2 separate regions of the Homo sapiens genome follow, and region 1 is linked to region 2. The links are contacts of gene promoters, found by promoter capture Hi-C in blood cells and fetal thymus (Javierre and others, 2016). All regions are on one chromosome and are shown on one strand. The core of a region is centred on a gene start or on the middle of the fragment in contact, and the rest is flanking DNA. Distances in the headings are between cores, read along the strand shown.

Region 1 (3,577 bases), core at 62-2,561, 3.2 Mb before region 2:
TATAGTTGATTACAGGTCTTGGAAACTCTGTATTTATCTGATTTCTTTAATCAGCAGACATACAATTTATTACTTAGATTATAGCTCTCACACATTTTCCATACTGAGAAATGTGTTGCTACAGATTTCTCTATGAAGAATTCAAATGGCGCTGCTAAAAACGCTTACATGAACCAAACAGCTCACTTTTGCTTATCCATAGGAATCCTGCTCCAAAAACATATATTTGAGGTGTTAAAATTGTTAAAAATTATTTTTGAGACACTGGTAAACTAGATTTCATGATAAAGGGAATATTTCATATTGTATAACTCTCAAATTGGACGGGAATACATTTTTTTCAAACAAAATATGTAAACTGAGGCAGTTGCCAGAAGACTTCTTGGTAGCCTTCTAAAACTGTATTTTTCTTCCCTAAAGACTTTTAAAGCTTTGGAGGCTGTTTTAAGTAGTACTGGAATTGTTGGATGTAACGATGTTTTGATGAAAATATAGAATAAAATAATAATAAAAAATAAATAGTACTGGCATTGCATGGAATTTCAGCTGATGTCTTATAACTTGTGCACATAACGAAACATACAGCCAAAGAAAGCTGTCTAATTAACAAACCAATTGTTAAAAGATGCAAAGGGTCTTAAAAACCACTTAAACATTGTTCTTAAAGACACACCCAAAATGACTGCTTTGTGTTCTGTGTTATTAACCATCCCTAAAACTTTCTCAAGGCTAAGGCTGACTGGGAAGATAAAATGCTTATCAAACACAATGGGAAAATTCTGAGTCATGATAAGATTTCAACTCAAGGTCAAAGGCAGAGAATCACCTTTCCTAACCCCATCTGCTAGGTACAATTCACCTATGGTCTTCTTTGTCCTGTCGATGTGCCTAACTATCAGGCAGATGTTTATAAAGAATTTCTCCTCATATGCAAGCGTTTTTTGTTTTTTTTCATCAGTATAAGGACAGAGAATAAACCTTAGCTAAGAAGCAACTGTATTAAAAACAAAACGATTTGTAGCTATGATTCAAATCAGCTCTCTTTCTGTGGTATTAAGAGAATTAAAGGGTAGAAGCAGAAAACCTCTCATAAATTAGCAAGAGTCCTGGAAAAAAGTCGCAAGTCAAGAGACCACAAAGATCTCAGAGGTACTGACAGTGGAAATCTCAAATGGATCATAATAGTTACCACAAATAATTTATAAAAAGCAATGGCCAATAGATTCCAATATTACCATTCTATTGTAATCTATAGGGATGCCATATTAATCATATTTAACCTTTCCAGGCATTATGCTTTCTTAGGAGTCCATATTCAATAAATAAATGCTGAAAAGTTATTTTCTCATCTAACCTAATAATCCATATTGTTAAAAAAATGTTTTATCAAACATTTCCTAGATGTCATAACTTGCTTAAAATTGTATCCTCATATAATGGTGAGGATACCATTACCAAATACCCTGGTGTTTCTACTGTATTCATCATGTACAATCCTATAATTATAGTCATGTTGTCTTAACTTAGTGTTATAAATCACTACAATTTCTATAACATTTTCATATATGAACAAAATTAATAGCTTTCTCATTATTGAATAGAATCAGATGTGATAAGTGACCTCAAATGTTTTATTTAGAGGCTTAAAGACAAAGAACTCTAAACGAGTATCCAGCATCTTTTGAAAGGATACCTAAAGGGGCAAGAAAAAAAATTATCTTTCCCCCATGAGCAAGAGAAGGGGAGCTGGGTGGTAAGTAAGGATGCAAGGTTTTCAGGACTGTTAACAGTTGAGAGTGTAGGTTCTTTCTACCTCTCCCTGATCCTCCCAGCCCTCCCCCATAACAATGAGGATGCTGGTGAAATACTAGCGGACAGGATCTGACCATACCTTCATGGGTAGGCTCTGGGTCAGGTGTAAGTGAGATGTCATCCAGCTCTCGCAGGCAGAGCCATTCTCCATCCATGGACACTCGGAATTTGCAAAGGTAGATGGTCTCCATGGCAGCCTGTGTGATCTTGTCAGTGGTGGGGGTTGGCATATCGGTCGGAGGCGTCAGAGCAGACATGATGACTCAGCTGGGACCACAACACACACACAGACACACACACACTCACACACACACACCAAAAAAATAAATACAACCTCCTCACCAAAAAAACCCAATACAAAGCTCTGAAACAAAGCTTTCAGGAAAAGGGTGGGGGAGGTTTAAAAAAAAAAAAAAGGAAAAATACCTTATAGGTTAAGAACAAACTGCTCAAGATAAACAATTCTACACTATCTTATAGACAGTTCCTACCACATAGCAAAATAAGATGATGCTTGTCTTCTCCCAGCTTCCTCTCCTTTTATCTTCCCTTCCCTGCCCCCCACCTTTTTTTTCAGCTGAGCTATAGGCTTTAAATCCCGCACAGCTGATGCTGCCTTAGCTGGCTTTAAAAATCTGGCCTCGATATGAGTAAGTGAAAAATCCTCCTCCTTTGTGCAGAAAAAAAATATAAAAGAAAAACCTGAACAAAAAATAAACCTATATTTTCAATGTAGCTTAAAAAAAAAATCCTGAGCTGCAGAAATCACTTCCAGGATCTGCTCAGATGAGCTGGGATGCTGAGTTCTCATAGGATTGGCCGTGCGCAGTAAGCAGGGTGTTGACCAAAATGGCTGACTAATGAACTGAACTGAAAATTCAGGCTCATGTGACCAGCTGCTCTGAACGTAGGGCAAGCAATTCCCAGGATGCTTTATAGATGCTGCTGATGCTGGGAGAGCAATTAGGCTTCTCTCTCTCATCCTGTACAACCCACTTCCAGACTGTGCTAGTCAAACTGTGATCAGACATAACACAATGCACATATCCTCATCAATTCTTCTTACTTTGGGATCAAGGACTGAATAAAAGGATGACAATTAATACCGGATAATAATCTATAGTAAAGATGGTAAAAGAGGCAGTTAGATTAATTTAACAAGCATATAATTCACCTCTTTCATTCTTATCTACATAGCTATTAAAATTCTTTACTATGCTAAATGTTATGTTTTAAGAAAAGCTAAAGCATAAAAAATTGAGGTTCTCAGAGGGAAAAAAAACAAAAAGATAAAAAGAAAAGCTAAAGTAGATTTTCAATTTAAATATCTTATTCTTGGGCATTTATAATTTCCTTCTCCAAGGTACAAAAACCTGACCTTTTAGGTTAGGCAGAAATGCAAAAAAAAAACTTCAAGTTAAAAAAGTAAAATCTTTCCCAATTAATGGCAATTTCCCCCCTTTTTGATTTTGTTGTATTTATCAAGTTTCTGTATTAAGCATAAAATACGTTTCTTTTTTTTTCTTTTTTCTTTTTTGAGACAGAGTCTTGCTCTGTAGCCCAGGCTGGAGTGCAGTGGCGTGATCTCAGCTCCCAGGTCCAAGCAATTCTCTGCCTCAGCCTCCCGAGTAGCTGGGATTACAGGCACCCACCACCACGCCCAGCTAATTTTTGTATTTTTAGTAGAGACGGGGTTTCACCATCTTGGCCAGGCTGGTCTTGAACTTCTGACCTCATGATCCTCCCACCTCAGCCTCCCAAAGTG
Region 2 (3,270 bases), core at 397-2,896:
ACACCTACTGAATCCTAGAATGTACCTTAGGAGGCAAGTAGCAAGTAGTATACTCTCTATCTTATAGTTGAAACAGTCTCAAGGAGATTGAGTAACTTGCACAAGATCACAAGCTATAAGTGGCAAAACCATCAGATAAAGGACACTCTAAAATTCTTATTCTTTCTGCTAACCATACCAATGACATGTCTTCTTTAAGCATTTAAAAAAAACTGCTATCATAAACAGTTATTATAAATACCTTGGAAAACATTCAATGAACAACCTGATTTAAATTACTAATTAGAATTTTTTTTTCTCAACTTCCCTTTCCTGGCAAAGTGTGACTATGTGGCTTACCTGTGGTGACAAGATTGAATTTACATTAAAAGCATATAGGATCAATCTAAAAAATTCTAATATAACTGAAAGGTAATTATTTATGCATGTTTAACATCCATAACAGAATACAAATTACCATGTCTTTACTCTCAAATAGTAAATGATCTGATTATATATGTAAGAAATGTGAATATGCTATTATAGATTTTTCATATATATAATTTTTCCACAAGTATTCATAAATCCTCAGAAAATATATTTTAGCATCATTAAACATTTCTGATGGAATTTCTGAAAACCTTAAAATTTTTCTAGTTTTAGTCAGTATACAATTTCATAAAATTTGACCTAACTTAATGATTTTTTTATTTAATAACAGGCAATTTTGGGCTTATTTCTCTAATTAATTTCAAGTCATCCATAATTACTGTTTTAAAAGTAATGATTTTAACTAACTATAAGTTTTAATTATTACATTTAAAAATACAGAATGCTTCATGGATTTTCTTAGAGCAAAGGTATTTATGTAGCTTAGTGTACTTAATACCCACAGTAGTACCCCAAAAATTAAAAGTCACTATCTTGAATAGTATTTTAGAACACATAACTATATATAATGTTAAACAGTATGAACTTTGTCATTTTAACAATTTTTACAAAAGCCATTTTTAATAATTTGATCATTATAAACTTCAAATGACTCAGAACAGGAGCAGGTTTAATTTTAATCATGATATCATTTTATCTTAATGGTACATGTCATCATTGAAGCATAGCAATAAATTGTGGAGAAAATACAAGAAACATTTTATCTCCCAAGCCAAAATCTTTTGTGATATTTAAATAAATTCTTTGGAAATTTAGCTTATTGACTTTTTTATATTAGTGCCTTAATATTACAACCTCTGTTATTATACATATTATATATGTGTATACATACAGGTTTAAGCCAGACATTGTATTTAAATTATGAAAAATTGGAATCATTTTTCTGAGCTCAAAGAAGAGAAGATGATTTAATTTCAACAGAAACAAGGAGGTCTTAACACATCACATCACCATGAAATAAATATTAAATTAAAACAGAAGTCTTAGGTTTAACATTATCATCTATAGACTCACCCGGTATCCTGACCGCTTGATTAATAAAAAACCTTCAAAGTACAAAGGTAGAGCAGTAATCTTTAACCTTTCCTGGAAGATCCTGCGAGGGGCTGGTTTTGGGGGCTTCTTAGCCATCATACCCCTCTCTTTGGTGTGTGGTTTGGTTTCTCGTCTCAAACAAAATGAAATCTTCCTTCTGTGAGAGGAAAAGGCAACTGTTCAAAGAGGAAGTCCCAAATTGCTTTTTAACCACCAACACTACCACCAACAGGACACACACACACACAGACGCACACACACACACACACACTTTTTTTTCCATTACTTTTTGTGAGGTAAGAAAGAACAGGTGTAGACTGACTTTCAGAGGGCAATCTCTGGGTAATCCACATGTGCTTAGATTTAAAGCGCAAAATAAACAGAAGATTAACATCACCAGAAGATGAAAGAAACAGGTGTAGAGATTGTGAACTTTAGGGGAGATATCAAGAACACAGTTATTCTTTCTATCTTTGTTTTTGTTTATTGGTGTCCATTTTTATTTGCAGAAGACATGACTTGAATAAACTCAGCTTCATTAAAAATTACTTCATAGAATAATTTTATTAGTACTACTTCTGTTGGTTAAATATTTTAGGGTCAAGTTTTGTGTAAATAAAAAAAATAGTTGTATCTCATGCTCATTTGATGCTTCACTAAATATAAACCACAATTATGGGAACACGGAATATGGAATTTTTTTCTTTTTTCTTTCTTTCTTTTTTTTTTTTTTTTGCCAGTAGATATTCCAAGTACATGAGTTCCCAATGAATATTTAGTGCTATGTTTTGAATGTGTCCTCCAAAACTTATGTGTTAGAAACTTAATCCCCAATGCAACAGTGTTTAGAAATGGGACTTTTAGAAGGTGATTAAGTCATGAGGCCTCTGCCCTCATGAATGAATGAATTAATTAATGCTGTGGGAGTGGGTTTCTTTCTCTTTTTTCAGAGGCAGGGTCTTGCTCTGTTGCCCAGGCTGGAATACACTGGTGCAATCACAGCTCACTGCAGCCTTGACCTCTCAGGCTCAAACAATCCTCACACATCAGCCTCCTAAGTAGCTGGGACTACAAGGCACGCGCCACCACTCCTAGCTAACTTTTTCATTTTTTGTATAGACAGTATCTCCCTATGTTGCCCAGGTTGGTCTCAAACTCTTGGGCTCAAGCGATTCTCCTGCTGTGGCCTCCCAAAGTGCTGGGATTACATGTGTGAGCCATTGCACCTGGCCTGGAAGTGGGTTTTTTATAAAATCAAGTTTGGCACTTTCTCACATGCTATCATCCTCTCTTGCTCTTCTATCTTCTGCCATGGAATGATGCTGCATGAAGGTCCTCATCAGATGCTGGCCATGTTCTTTGACTTCCAGACTCCAGAACCATGAGCGAAATACATTTCTGTTCATTATAAATTACCAGTCTGTGGCATTCTGTTACAGCAACACAAAGGAGTCTAAGATATTTGGCAAAAAAATATCTGGCAGAGAAAGCTGTAAGTTTTCAAACTTTTATTTTGTTCTTTTGTGCTTTCTGAGCTGCAGACCATTGATACTATGATTCATGGATGGACTTCCCACAGTTATCTAGTGAGATTTATAAAGCTATACTGGGGCCAAAGTGCACTCAATGGTTGCATGTAGGAAATGGTCCTTAAGAGATTGGATTTGGCGTAGCACAGTGCAGGAAATGATGGGAGAAAAGAATACTAGAAGGAATTTTGATTTGTCTTACAGGGGTCCTAAGAATTTCTACCATTGCCTATTTCACACTCAGTATTTCAGAACTACTCTAGATTTAGAACAGCCT

The links. Contacts are between HindIII fragments. The CHiCAGO score rates a contact against its expected background, and 5 or more counts as called.
Region 1: a contact is called between a fragment that was not itself captured here and the fragment with the promoter of STAP1 in region 2, in 1 of 17 cell types (non-activated CD4 T cells). The highest score is 5.7, in non-activated CD4 T cells.

Annotation. Positions count from the first base shown.
Region 1 is chr4:70,721,066-70,724,642 of GRCh38, reverse strand. RUFY3 (RUN and FYVE domain containing 3) reads right to left here and starts at 2,679. Exons shown (of 18, transcript NM_001037442.4): 1 at 1,892-2,679. The coding sequence starts at 2,069. The HindIII fragment of the contact is 1,757 bases long and covers 433-2,189 here.
Region 2 is chr4:67,557,103-67,560,372 of GRCh38, reverse strand. STAP1 (signal transducing adaptor family member 1) reads right to left here and starts at 1,646. Exons shown (of 9, transcript NM_012108.4): 1 at 1,444-1,646. The coding sequence starts at 1,563. The HindIII fragment of the contact is 12,125 bases long and covers 1-3,270 here.